Regions from separate parts of the Homo sapiens genome. Here region 2 is linked to region 1. The links are contacts of gene promoters, found by promoter capture Hi-C in blood cells and fetal thymus (Javierre and others, 2016). All regions are on one chromosome and are shown on one strand. The core of a region is centred on a gene start or on the middle of the fragment in contact, and the rest is flanking DNA. Distances in the headings are between cores, read along the strand shown.

Evidence for each region. The method cuts DNA at HindIII sites, captures the fragments that hold promoters and counts their contacts. A CHiCAGO score of 5 or more calls a contact.
Region 2: a contact is called between a fragment that was not itself captured here and the fragment with the promoter of KDM5D in region 1, in 1 of 17 cell types (activated CD4 T cells). The highest score is 6.0, in activated CD4 T cells.

What each region holds. Positions count from the first base shown.
Region 1 is chrY:19,741,710-19,749,555 of GRCh38, forward strand. KDM5D (lysine demethylase 5D) reads right to left here and starts at 3,017. Exons shown (of 27, transcript NM_004653.5): 1 at 2,962-3,017; 2 at 2,676-2,844; 3 at 1,453-1,530; 4 at 26-148. The coding sequence starts at 2,825. It overlaps KDM5D-DT (KDM5D divergent transcript), which reads left to right and starts at 3,076. Exons shown (of 3, transcript XR_938630.4): 1 at 3,076-4,004. The HindIII fragment of the contact is 5,320 bases long and covers 2,394-7,713 here.
Region 2 is chrY:21,243,251-21,250,259 of GRCh38, forward strand. The region is part of intron 2 of LOC107987346 (a long non-coding RNA gene); the gene reads left to right. It overlaps LOC107987347 (a long non-coding RNA gene), which reads right to left. Exons shown (of 3, transcript XR_001756079.2): 3 at 4,815-5,900. Among named protein-coding and RNA genes, the nearest start is that of PRORY, 210 kb to the right of the region's middle. The HindIII fragment of the contact is 1,273 bases long and covers 3,879-5,151 here.

The DNA of each region.
Region 1 (7,846 bases), core at 1,767-4,266:
CCTTTAGAAAGTAGACTACTCTTACCTTACTAAGGCTGTAGAGGTCCAAGATCTTCCGCTCCACATTGGGAATCTTTAAAGAGGAGCCTTGAATTTCCCAGAATTTTGCAATCTGATCCAAATAGTTCAATTTCACTCTAGTTTGGGCCTGGGAAAGAGAGGGCCTTATAAGATTGGCATACTCCTTAACCTGACTTCATCGAGTATGCAGTAAATGAACAAGTATTATTCTATGCTATCTACACTTCTCCACCAACGTGCCGGAGCCCCAGCTTCACTGTCTTATCTCACCAGCGGGGTCCACAAAAAGCTCAAATAAGCTGAGTCTTTAATCTATAAAGAGCTAAGAATGTGCCGTCTTAGGATCAACATCATGTCTAAATTTAAGGAATTATTCTTGGACTTAAAGGTGGCTTGACCAAAAATATGTAGGCTCCAACAGTATTTAGACTCAATATCATCAAGACACTCATTTAGAATGTACTGATATATAATTCAAAGAATTAAAATATTTTTCTAGTTCATGTAAAAGAGCTGGACACAAAACCAGTTTCTGAATCACTGCTTTCTTACTCTAACTCATACACAGCTTCTAGCTACTGATCATAGTCAAAATCCTAAGAGTAAAAGAAAATGACAAATCATTCATATACTTTCTATATTGAATACTAAACTGTGAAGACTGAGTTGACTGCTTTAAAGAGCAAGTTTGCCTCTGACATTTTATTAAAGCAGAACATATGTAATACCATCACTCTGTTGCTGGATATTTAAAAGATCCTATTTCTTGTCTGAACTCTGCTTCTGTTAAAGAACTAAAAAAAATTTAGTCACACTGGGTGCAGGGGCTTACGCCGGTAACCCCAGCACTTTAGGAGGCCAAGGCAGGCTGATCACCTAACGTTTGGAGTTGGAGACCAGCATGACCAAATCGGTGAAACTCCATCTCTACTAAAAATACAAAAATTAGCTGAGCCTGCTGGTGTGCACCTGTAATCCCAGCTACTTGAGAGGCTGAGGCAAGAGAATCCCTTGAACCTGGAAGGTGGAGGTTGCAGTGAGGCGAGATCCCGCCACTGCACTCCAGCCTGGTAGACAGGGTGAGACTCTGTTTCAAAAAAAAAAATTCATTCATTAAATATGTGAGTACGAGAAGACAAAATGGGAAAGGTACTGTCATTTTGATAGTTCTAACCTGAAACTATTGAACAGCGAAACAATGCATCATTCTTCCTCAGATATTTAAAGCCTTTGTGTTCTACCATTTTTGTGGACATAAATTATGTATTTTATAGAAGACTTTCTCCAAAATCAGTATTCTGGAAAATGGTGGAGTTCGGGTTCAAATTCAATACATTAGATTTCAAAACTTAAGTTCTACATTATTATGAAACTACAACGGCAAGATTAAAGATCAGATTCCTTTAAAAAAAGTGTGCCTCCCAATCTTACCTCCAGTTCATTTAGCCTTTGGACGCGAGGAGTAAATCTGAAATTGTCAACTTCTACTGCAAAAGGAGGCTGCCAATCCTAGAAGAAAGTGTAAGGACCTGGTAACTATGGCACAGTAAAGGATGAAGATAGTGAAAACCACAATCATTTGTTCCCACTCTTTTAAAGTCTTCTGGTAACCATTTTTGTACACAAGGGCCTCAAATGATTCCTTCTTCATAATCAAGATTAACTGCAAAAAAAAAAAAAAAAGGAAAAACCCTGCAAATCCAAAACTCTCCTTGATATGTGTCCTTCGTAACAGACGAAAAAAAAAAAAAAAACCTCTATAATCCCAAGGCTAGAAAGCGACTCGACTTCCAAGGAATGACGCACATCTGAACAAACACTATGCTATTTGGGTTATGAGTCCTTACTAAAATGAAGATAAATGTAATGCAGATAAAAAATTGTTTCACTTTTTAAAACCTAAGCCATTATCTCTTCCCACTCCCAGCAGTACGAAAAAGTTTAATTGCAAATGCTGAGAAGTGCGAACATCCACATAAAAATAACGTTGCAGCCTGGTTCAATATATGAGAAAAAAGCTGTATGCTCTGCGAAAACTTTTTGACTTCTCTGAATATTGTGTTAGTTGTTCACGACGACAGCCCAGGCTTATTTCAGTTTACATTCTTAATTCAGTCAAACTTCTACGAGGTTCATTTAGTAGTTTTCAGTATAGCAACCCAAAATGGTCTACGTTTAATAATAAATTTAATTGATGGCAAAGGATGCCACATCACTCCCATTATTTGCTATATTTGCTACATACATCTAAGGTCATATCAAAGAAAGAAAACACCAGTCCAAGTGGTTAACACACAAGCTTATATAACTTGCTTCTGTCATAGATCAAGTACTTCTGAGTAAGCTATTTTTTTGCGGTTAAATGTAATAAAAGCTTGTGTATGCCTAAACTATATTTAATAACAGCAGAACGTAGAAATATTTGAATCTTATATTTTTGTCCCTACAGCAGTCAGATGTTTAGAACCCCGTGGAATGTGGCGATCTGATACTAATATTCTGATGCCAGCTTGTTCGGGTCAGAAAAGTTAAATGAGAAATTTGGTGCTAAGGGTTTCTGGTCATGAGTGTAAATAACGCCTCGCCAAGTGGTAAACTGCCCCAACGTTCAAACCAAAGGCTACCCATTCCCAAATTTTGTTTCAAAGACTTACCGCGGGTGGGCGGATTTTGCAGATGCCAGACTTCTCTGCTATGGGCCTTATTTTCGCAATGTAGCCAAGCGGGTCTTGGAATTCAGCCCAGCTAGGCTCAAAAACCGGGCACTCCGGTGGCGGCAGGAACTCGTCACACCCCGGTTCCATGTCGGGCCTTAATGCTAAGCTGTAAAATAAGAATCACATTGTCTTTAATGACGCGCTGGTTCCTCCTACTAAAAGGCCTATGAAAATTTCATTTTCTTGAGAATTTCAAGGTTACTTTAATCCCGTAGCTGCTTACCAATCGTCAGGGATCCTAGTTTTACAGCCACCATCTTGACCTCCGGGCCCTGCAGTGTGGTACGAGCCGTCTCACTCCGCGGATCGATTTTTCCGGCGCTATTTCCAAACCTGTGAGACCTTCCGCACCTGAGATAAACGCTGAGGACGCAAGAGCGATTTTACCAGAGGAAAACAGTCACAGAGCCGTCGCTGGACTCATATTAAACAGTACTGCGACAGAACGAAAAAGCAAGATAAAAATAGTATGGCCGGATCTTTTTTAAAATGGGACCACTGCGCAAGTTACGCCTGCGTATTGCAGGGAAGGACCGTAAAAGGCTGTGGTGCTGATCAACGAAGGATTTCTCGGAGAAAATTCCTCCTTTGCGGAAATGTCCGTAGAAACGCACCTTTTTTTTTTCCTGCCAGGACAAACCGCCGGCGATATCCGTTCATGTGAAAGTGTTTACTAACATTCTCTGAAGACTCACTGGGTTCTCAGCTCGAGAACGTTCCTGTCACAAGACGTTTAGGAGGCAGGATGCCGGTACAATGTATTTATGTTCTTGTAAACTGTTGCATTAACAGTGCACTTCAAGTGGGCACATTTGTCGTTGGATTTTTTACCAACTCGAGCTTGGACTTTAGGACGGGGAAAAGAAGTGCTAAATGTTTTTGAATAAAACCTTTACTGCACATGATAAACATCCCTTAAAAATTACCTAGGAGCACCCTAAATTTTAAAATGATCACAAAGACCTGGACAGATTACAGTAAACCTTCAACATCGCTAAACACACGTACCATAAATCAAAAGAAACACACTGCTAATGATCCGTTTTTTGATGTGGAAATATCATGCTGTTTTTAAGGGAAATTATACTTTATTGCGATGTTTTATTTCAAAACAAGATGTTACACTTTATTTCCTATAATTTTATTTACAATATTTTACACCCGTTAAGCAAAAATCCCCCTACATTGCTATTCTGTTTTTTTTTAATCAGTTCACTACTGTAGTATCTTTTTGTTCTCCATATATTTTTGAAAAATACGCAAAAGGTAAGTTTTAAAAATCAAATGGTAGATTTTATTTGGAAGGGCACTGCCAGAAGTGCCTTAAAGTTTGATAGTTTGACAATTGTTTCGTATTGTACGATTCTTGGCATTTCCGTTTTTTTTTTTAACAATTTATCCATTTCATCTAGATTATCGGCTTCATGAGTTTATTATACTACATTACATATATATTCCTGTTTCAAAAGTTGTTACTTAATTTTCTGCTTTCTTTTTCCTAGTTTTATCTACATACTTTTTCTGTTTCATAAAGTTAGAGTTATAGAGTTCTATTTCATAAAATTAGTTATAGAGCCTGTATTATTTCAAATGATGAGATCTTTTTTCTCTGTTCAAGATAATTCATTATAATACAGCTTTATATTTTATGAATTCATTAGTAAATAGATATTTCAATTTCTACTTTTAGCTATTATAATGTTGCTATTAGCATTTGTGTACCGGTTTTTGTGTGCATGCTTAGTGTCATTTCTCGTGTGTATACACCTACAAGTAGAATTAGTGGGTTATATGGGAACTTTAGGTTTAAACTTTTCTTTTCCAAAGCATCTTCATCATTTAATTTCCATCTAAAGTGGAATACCGTTCTAGTTTCTTCATGTCCTCACCAATACTATAATTACATGACTTACTGATTTGACCATTACAATGTGTATGAGATCTCATAGAGTTTTGAGTTGGACTTCTTGAATTACTAATGATACAGTAGTGTTGAGCATCTTTTCGTAAGGTTGTTGGCTTGTTCATATGCTTTATATACCTTCTCTGGAGAAATGTCTATTCAAAATTTTTGGCTCTTTTCACATTGGTTTGTCTTTTTTTGTTTAGTTGTAATCTTATCTGATTCTTTTATCAAATATTTGATTTTTATAAAAAATAATTCTGTAAGCTGGCTTTTCTCTTTCCTAATAGTAAACTTTGAACAGAAAGATTTTTAATTTGATCTTTATCCAGTTTGCTTTTTTCTATTGTCACTTGTACTTTCAGTGTTGCCTCTGAGGGGATTTTGTCTAACCCAAAATCACAAGGATGTACTCTTCTCCTCTATTCTAGGACCTTTATAGTATTAGCTTCTACATTAAAGTCTTTGATACATTTTGAGTTAACTTGTGTAAACACTGTGAAGTAATGATCCAACTCAATATTTTTGCGTGTTGCCATCTAGTTGTCCCAGAATTTGTTGGAAACATTATTATTGCTTCATTAATTGTTCTTGGCACTCTTGATAACATTCCGTTGGCCATAAATGTATGGGTTTATTCTTGGACTCTCAATTTCGTTCCATATTTATATGTATGTATATATTCTAATGCCATATTGTTTTTATTGCTGTAGTTTGTGGAAGGTTTGAATTGGGAAAAGTGAGTAATCCCAACTTTCTTCTTGTTTTTTTCGAGACTGTTTGGCTATTATTTGTTTCTTGTATTTTTATTACCTTGCCTGTTTCTACAGAGAAACAAGCTGGGGTTTCAACAGACAAGCAAGCTGGGACTGAGACAGAAATGTTGAATCTACAGACAAATTTAGGAAATATTTCCATCTAAGTTTCCTATACATGGACAAAGCATGTATTTCAATTTATTTAGGTCTTCTTTGGTTTCCTGCAACAAAGTTTTATAGTTTTTGGTATTTTTTGTATATTAGTATTTAGTATGTATTATATATATTTGAAATTAATTTACTTCAGATTATCTTATTCTATTTCTGCTACTATGAATCAAATTTTTAAAAGATTTCCCCTATTAAGGGTTTGTTAGTGATACACAGAAATATGATTAATTTTTGTATGTTGATCTTGTGTTCTGGCACCTTGCTAACTTCATTTATTGTAATACATATATTTTTTAACTTTTAAGTTCAGAGGTTCATGTGCACTATATGATGGTTTGTTTTATAAGTAAGCCTGTGTGATAGGGTTCGTTGTACAGATTATTTCATCACCCAGGTATTAAGCCTAATATCCATTAGTTATATTTCTTGCTTCTCTCCCTCCTCCTGTGCTCCACTCACCCACTTATAAATGAGAACATGCAGTATTTGGTTTTCGGTTCTGGCGTTTGTTTGCTAAGGATAATGGTCTCCAGCTGTGTTACTGCAAAGACATGATCTTGTCTTTTTTTATGGCTGCATAGAAATCTATGGTGTATATTTACCACATTTTCTTTATCCAGTCTATCACTGACGAGCATTTGGGCTGATTCCATTGTCTTTGCTTTCGTGAATAGCTGCAGTGAATGTACATATGCTGTTGTGAATACCTGCAGTGAACATACATGTGCATGTATCTTTATAACAGAATGATTTATAATCCTTTGGGATATACCCAGTAATGGGATTGGTGGGGTTGAATGATAATTCTATCTTTAGGTCTTTGAGGAATTGCCACACTGTCTTCCATAATGCTGAACTAATTTACATTCCCACCAGCAGTGTAAAAGCATTTCTATTTCTCCAGAACCTCACCTGAATCTGTTATTTTTTGACTTTATAATAATAGGTATTCTGACAGGTTTGGGATACTATCTCATTGTGGTTTTGATGCGCATTTCTATAAGGATCAGTGATGTTGAGCTTTTTAAGATGTTTGTTGTCTACATGTGTATGTCTTGAGAATTGTCTGTTCATGTCCTTTGCCCACTTTTTAATGAGGTTCTTTGTTTTTTCCTTGTAAATTTGTATAAGTTCTTTGTGTATGCTAGATATTAGACCTTTGTCAGATGCATAGTTTACAATTTTTTCCCATTCTGTACTTTGTCTATTTAATTTGTTGATGGTTTATTTGCTAGTGCAGAAGCTCTTTAGTTTAATTAGATGTCATTTGTTAATTTTTTCTTTTGTCACAATTGCTTTTGACATCTTCTTCAAGAAGTCTTTACTCCTGCCTATGTTCTGAATGGTTTTGCCTAGATTTGCTTCTAGGGTTTTTATAGTTTTGGGTTTTACATTTAAGTCTTTAATCCATCTTGAGTTAATTTTTGTATATGGAGTAATAAAAAGGTCCAGTTTCAATTTTCTCTATATGGCTAGCCAGTTTCTCACAGCACCATTTATTAAATAGAGAGTCTTTTCACCATTGCTTTTGTAAATTTTCTTGAAAATCAGATACTTGTAAGCATGTAGTCATATTTCTGGGTTTTCCATTCTATTCCTTTGGTCTATGTGTCTGTTCTTTTATCAGTACCATGCTGTTTGGGTTACGGTACTTCTGTAGTGTAGTTTGAAGTTGGGAAGCATGATGAATTTAGTTTTGATTATGTTGCTTAAAATTGCCTTGGCTGTACAGTCTCTTTTTTGGTTTCACATGAATTTTAAAATAGATTTTTCTAGTTCTGTGAAGAATGTTAATGGTAATTTAATGGGTATAGCATTGGATCTATAAATTGCTTTGGGCAGAGTGGCCATTTAGTGATATTGATTCCGCCTATCTGTGAGCATGGAATACTTTCCATTTGTTTATGTCATCTCTTAGTTATTTGAGTAGTGATTTGTATTAATAGTTCTTCCTGTACAGGTCTTTCACTTCCCTGGTTAGCTGTACTTTAGGTGTTTTATTCTTTTTGTGGCTATGGTGAATGAGAGTTTGTTCATGACTTGGCTCTTGGCTTTACTATTGATGGTGTATAAGAACGCTAATGATTTTTGCACATTGATTTTGTATTGTGAGATTTTGCTCAAGTTGTTTATCAGCTTAAAAAGCTTTGGGGCTGAGATGATGGATTTGTGTGCATATAGAATCATATTGGTTGCAAACAGGGATAATTTGATTTCCTCTCTTCCTATTTCAATATCTTTTATTCCTTTCTCTGGCCTGATTGCCCAGAACTTTC
Region 2 (7,009 bases), core at 3,265-5,764, 1.5 Mb after region 1:
TGTGGAAGTAGACAAGATTACAGCATGGGGCCCATCCCATAAGGGTCCTAGAGTAGTTGGATTCTGTTTCATAACTCAAACCAGGTCCCCAGATTTGAGCGGGCATATTGGGTCTGTTAGACTTACAGGCATCATTTCCCGTACCCAGCCATGGACTTTCTGCATAGCTAGACCTAAGGCCTCTATTTGCCTGGTTAAGTTTAATTCCCCTAAATCATGGAGGTCACCTTTAACCTGAGTTATGCTGGGGGTGGTCTGCTGAACAAAATCTCCCAAGGTGAATACCCAGTTTGTTTGGTAGTGGGGCACCTGACTCAGAGGAGGACTCCGGGCAAAACCTGATCCCACCTGAGATGAGTTTCTTGACAGAATTTCTTCAGTAGTTGCTTGAGTGTTTGGTTCATCCACTCTACTTTTCCTGAGCTTTGCAGGTGGTAGGCAGTGTGCCACTTCAATTTTATTTTTAGTAGTTGTGTTAGCTGCTGTACAATCTCAGCCACAAATGCCTGGCCATTTTCTGATCCTATAGTTACAGGCAGTCCAAATCTAGGAATGCAGTCTTTTAACTGCACTCTAGTTACTTCCCATGCCTTTTCTGTCCTGTTTGGGAAAACCTCAACCCACAGTGAAAAGGTGCAAACAAGCACTAGTAGGTACCAGTGGCCCCCAGCCTGGGGCAGTTTGGTAAAGTCTACAAGTAAATTTTCACAAGGTGTAGCTCTGATTTCTGAACTGCTGGGGGCCAGGTTGGCCCCTGCCATGGGTTGTTTTGAGGACAAATCAGACATTGCTCACAGATGGCTCAAGTGATGGGGCTAAGTCTTTGCACATAAAAGTGCCATCCTAGCAAGGTTTCTAGTGCTGTCTTCCCATGTGGGTTCCTTGGTGGAACTGATTTACAAATCTGGGAGTCATCATCTCAGGTATGGCTAGCCTCCCATCAGAGAACTTCCATCATCCTCCCTCAGTGTAGTTTCCATTTTCCTGAGCAAAACAACTCCTTTCATTTAGAGTGTAACTTGGGATCTCTGGGAGGGAAATCTCTGGGAAGAGAGGCATTGCTAGGGCTCCCTCTTTAGGAGGAAAAGTGGCCATTGATGCCCATTGTGCCTTTTTATCTGCTTTTCTGTTTGCTTTTGCTTCAAAATTTCTGATGCTTTATGTCCCTTGCAGTGAATGACAGCCACCTTTTCTGGGGCCCACGCAGCATCTAAGAGTTGTAGAATTTTCTCTTTATTTTTTATCTCCTTTCTTCCTGCAGTTAAAAGTCCTCTTTCTTTATATATGGCCCCATGAGCAAGCAGTGTCACAAAGGCATACTTAAAGTCAGTATAACTGTTAACCACTTTTCCTCTGGCCAACAGTAGGGCTCTTGTTGGAGCTGTTAGCTCTGCTTTCTGAGCAGATTTCCTAGCAGGCAGAGGCTGAGCCTCTACCACTGAGTCCCAGGTTACTACTGTATATGCAGGTTACTGGATCCCTTCTGAGATAAAACTGCTCCCATCCATGAAGTACTCAACATCTGGGCCAACAAGGGGCTGGTCTGTTAAGTCTTTTCAGCTACAGAATAATTCCTCCACTACATCCACACAATAGTGATAGGGAATGGAATCTTTTGGCCTTTTTATGGGTAGCAGAGTGGCTGGGTTTAAAGAAATAACAGTTCCTATGATTACATAAAGATTTTCAGATAAGAGTCCTTGATATCTATCTGGTAATTCTTGGGTTTGACAACCAATAATGTCCCCTTTGATCCATCAAGATGATAACTGTGTGGGGTACTCTGATGATTAGTTTTTGTCCTAAGGTCAATTTATTGGCTTCTTGTGACAAAAGGGTTGTAGCAGCTGATGTCTTAAAGCAAGGGGGCCAGCTTAGCACCAAAGGGTCCAGCTGTTTGGATAAATACACCGCTGGTATATGCCATGACCCCATCATTTGAGTCAGGATCCCTACAGCCACTTCCTTCCATTCATAGACATATAGGAAGAAAGGCTTAGTCTGATCTGGCAGTCCTAAGGCCAGGGCCTGGATTAAAGCCCTTTTGATCCCTTGTAAGCTTTTTCCTGATTGGCTTCCCAAAGAAGGGGCTCTTTTTCCCCACTCTGTGGCTTCATACAGCAATTTTGCCATAAGTAAAAAATTTGGAATGTAGATGTGGCAGAAACCTGCTGCTCCTAGGAATTCCCTTATTTGGCACCCAGTGGTTGGGATGGTACTGCACAAACAGTCCGCTTTCGCTCACTGCCAAGCTCACATTTCCCTTCACTTATTTCAAAACCTAGATATATGACTCCTTCTGAACAGATGTGTGCCTTTTTCTTGGATACTTTATATTTGGCCTTCCACAAAAGGTGGAGGAGTTTCTCAGTGCCCTGAAGGCAATCCACCTGAGTGGGGACCATAAATAGGAGGTTATCTATGAACTGCAGTCAGAAGCATTTGTCATTAGGTGGAATGAAAGCTCCTGAGATCTGATGCTAGCACTTCTCCAAAGATTGTAGGGGAGTTCTTAAACCCTCGTGGGAGCCTTGTCCAAGTATACTGTGTTTCTCCCCAATGAAATGCAAAGATAGGTCAGCTCACTGGCACCAGCTGGAGACAAAAGAATGCATCCTTTAGGTAGAAGAAAATAAACCAGGCTGCACTAGCTGGTATTTGTCCTAACAAGGTGTATGGGTTGGGCACTACTGGATAGATTGTCTCTGTGACCTGGTTTATGGCACGCAAATCCTGCACTGGCCCATATTCCCCAGATGGCTTTCATACTGGCAACAGAGGAGTGGTCCAAACTTATCTGCATTTAACTATGATTCTATTCTTGAAAAGCCAGTCTATATGCTTTTGAACACCTTGGATGGCTTATATGAAAATCAGTTACTGACAAACTCATACCAGGGTGGCTCCTGGTTTTAACTCTACTAAGACTGGTGCCTGATTTACAGCCAATCCAGGTGGATTGTTTTCCGCCCATACTCTAGGTATTTTGGTAACTAGCCCATACTTCTCAAGAGGTCCTAGCAGTCCTTGCTTAAGTGGTACTTGTGCATATAGCCTCCATTCCTCAGCTTTTGGCAGTGTGAGGGTTAACACCATAGCTTTTGGTTGACGTAAGTTTAAATACATATTTCCTTGTGGTGCAAAGGAAATGTGTGCCTGTAGTATTTGGAGCAAGTTTTTCCCTAGCAAAGAAACTTGACAATTTGTAAGGTATAGAAACTCATGGTGGACTTCTCATCCTCCAATAATGCAACCCCTTGACCAGCAAAAAGGCCTTTTTCTGAAACTCCAGATCCCCTGAAAATAGTGGTATAATTCTTAGATAGTAGCCCTATGGGTTGGGTAACTACTCAGTGTTTAGCTCTGGTATCTACCATAAAGTCCATCCATTGGTCCCCTCTCTCCACTGTGACCATAGGCTCCTGGTGGCCCAAAGAGATGGAGAAACAGTCTGTCTCAGTCCTCCACAGTCTCTGCCAGGCTGATCAAGTTGGCATCCGGTTTCAGAACACAATGACTTACAGCTGGTAGCTCTGGCCAAGCTCCCTGGTCACAGATATTGCCCTTATCCTTCTCTGGACATTCATCCTTCCAATGTGCTTTCTTTTTGCGTAATGCACACTAATCCCTCTCCAGCCTTCTCTGGCCTTCAAATCCGGGCCACTTTGACCTCTTCATAACCATGACCATGACCACATCCTTGTCCCCTTACAATGCTAGTTTCTATTTCAACAACGGCTGCCACCAGTAGCTCGGCCTTTTTCTTAATCATCTGCTTAGCCTCCTTCCTTTCCTCCTGATCGTGGTTAACACATACTTTGGTGGATACTTCTATTAGCTGGGTGGCATTCATGCCTGCAAAACCTTCAAGATCCCAAAGCTTTTGTTTAATGTCTGCCTGTGCCTGACTAACAAATGACATATTCACCATGCACTGATTCTCTCTGTAGCCTCGGGGTCAAATGGGCTATAGAGCTGGTATGCCTCACAGAGACTCTCATAGGACTGACTTGGGCTCTCATCAGCCTTTTTAAGGACCTCTGAAATTTTTCCTATGTTCATTGCCTTTTTCCCTTCAGCTTTTATCCCATTTAAGAGTGCTTCCTGATATCTCTGCAGGCAGAGCTGCTCTTTTGCCTCATTTGGGTTCCAATTTGGGTCTGTCTCTGAGAACTGTTCCTGGGCATACCACCAGACATCATGTGTGCCATCAGGTGCATTGTTCTCTATCCACTGGAGGGCCTCTTTGGACACCCTCTGATGCTCCTTTGTATTGAACCATGTCAGAAGGAGCTGCTGGCAGTCTGGCCAGGTAGAATTGCGAGTCAGAAAAATGGACCGCAACAGGTCTATTACAGACTGGGGCTTCTCTGTATAGGATGGAGTATGCTGTTCCCCATTTAGGTGGTCTGTGATGGAGAAAGGCTGGTAGACAAAAATTCACTGCCCACCCCGGACCCGGCCTTGTTCATAATAATACGTCTGTGCTCGAGTCTCATGGAAGAGCATTTGCAAGGCTTGGGTGCAGCCTGACCAGAAGTGGCTTGCTGTTTAATCCTGCCTTTCCTCTTTGGTTTTTATGGGCAGGGGCTCAGGATCCCCTCCATGGGGTTATGCTGCTTGAGACTCACTTTTCTCTGAGCCTGATTCCTCGAGGGCCATTTGCTTTCTGCCTTGTCTTAGCCCTGACAAGGATGGGTGTATTGGAGCATAAGAAGGAGGAAACTTTCTTTCCTTGGAAAGCGTTTGGAAGACTGTTTTTTCCTGACTACTCTGTTGCTTTTTCTTCTCCTCTGAGGCTCCTATTGAGATAGACTTCTCAACTTCCTTAGGTATAGCTCAGGCTACCAGAGACTTACAATAACTTGTCAAATAAGGTTGTATCCATTTGGGATGTGTTAGAACCATGTTCAACCAGGAATCAATATATGGGAACTGATCTAGATTCCCAGGCTGTTCTCCAACCCCTGTCACTTCCTTAAACACATGGCCAATTTCTTCCCTATCTATTGTGTCTTTGGCAGGCCACACAACATTAAAAGAAGGCCAGTCTAATTCACAGAGAGTTCTCAACCTTTGGGGGGTCAGTTTTACCCCATAATCTCCTCCAAAGCGTTTCCCAGAATTATTTAACATGCACTCCAATGGAGAAGCTTTTGATGATTTTCCTCCCATTCCTCCTTTTATGACACACACTCACTCTACCTTTTGTTACAGACTGATCAGACTGGTTCCTATTACGGGAATTTCATGCACTGCTTAGCTAGGACAGTATCGTATTCCCACTGCAGCTGCTGCAGCTGTAGGGCAGCTCCTGTCAGCCTTATACAGATCGCTCTAGATCTGGTCAGCCACACACTGGCTCCAGAGCCCACAGTCCACATTAAGAGATCTGTGCCTTCACCTGTCATGCCCCATGTTGGCCCTTCCCAGAACTGTCTCTTTAATGTGCTTTCACATGCCTCTTCACTCCCAGTTCACGTTTTTTAATTAGGGTGGCAACTCATTCTTGCTACGTCTAGTTTCAGTTTTTATTTTCCTAAACTGACTTAGTGAGCCTCTTTCATGTGCTGTGACAGTTAGGTTGTAAGTTTCATCCAAACTGGCAGGTCACTCCCACTTTCCTCAGCCCCTCTGTGTTAGACGAGTAGTCACACCCTGGGAAGTGATTAGGCCCCCGTTTCATCCTTATGGGATGGGTCTTGACTTGGGGCTTCAGGCCTTACCACGTTTTTGAAGAATGCACGCAGCTCCTGGAATTGTCCTGTAGCCCCTTTGCCAGTTCCATTGTGCTGTTAGGGAAGGGCACCGGGATGCAGGAGAGCTGGTCTCCTCTCCAGTCTGAAGTTCTCCTGTCAGTGCCTAGGATTTCAGGTATCCCCTGCTCTTGGGCTCCAGTCCTATGGGCAAAGGAGACAGAACATTTGCCATCTCCAATCCTGGATGAGCCCCTAGAAAATGTTACAGGAAATCAGAGACTGGAGAGACTGATGGGGTCAAAGGACGATTTATTATTTAAGGTATACACTGGCTCAGTGGACTAGTGTCCAGAAAGTCTGAGCACCAAACAAACAAGGCAAGTATCTTTTATGCAGTTTTTGTTTTTTGACGCAGAGTCTCACTCTGTCACCCTGGCTGGGGTGCAGTGGTGTGATCTCAGCTCACTGCAAGTTCCACCTCCCGGGTTCACACCATTCTCCTGCCTCAGCCTCCTGAGTGGCTGGGACTACAGGTGCCTGCCACCATGCCTGGCTAAGTTTTTGTATTTTTAGTAGAGACGGGGTTTCACCTTGTTAGCCAGGATGGTCTTGATCTCCTGACCTCGTGATCTGCCTGCCTCGGCCTCTCAAAGTGCTGGGATTATAGGCATGAGCCACTGCTCCCGGCCTTTTATGCATCTTAAGGCAGGCAGTACATGAGGCAGGAAGCAGGCTTACAGAAGCGAGAACAAAAGCAGTTAATCATCTGTGACACGTCTTACATCTTTGATAAAACATGTTTTACAGCTAGTGGTTATCTATCTTGTGACCTTTCAGCTGTTCAGCAGTAAAACAGAAACTTAGAGAACTTACAAAATATGCAGAGGGTAGATATGGTTAATATTTCACAGAGAAGTAGTTAGTATTCTTTCTTAACTCGTACTTTGGAAGGGGGCTATTTGAGGCCTATTCCATCCTAACTCTAACAACAATTTTTAAGCAAGCTTTAATTTTCTTTTAATTTTCTACTTCACATTCCTTTTCTTTTCTCTAACCTTGTCTTCATGTTTTATTTCAGTAAGCTCTTCTTCAACCTCTAATATCCTTTCTTCCACCTGATTAATCTGGATATTGATACTTGTGTATGCTTCACAAAGGTTTTAGCACTGTTTTTCAGCTCCTTCAGGTCATTTATATTCTTCTCTAAACTGGGTATTCTAGTTAGCAATTTCTGTCACCTTTTATAAAGGTTCTTAGCTTTCTTGCATTGGGTTAGCACATGTTCCTTTAATTCAGAGGAGTTTTTTATT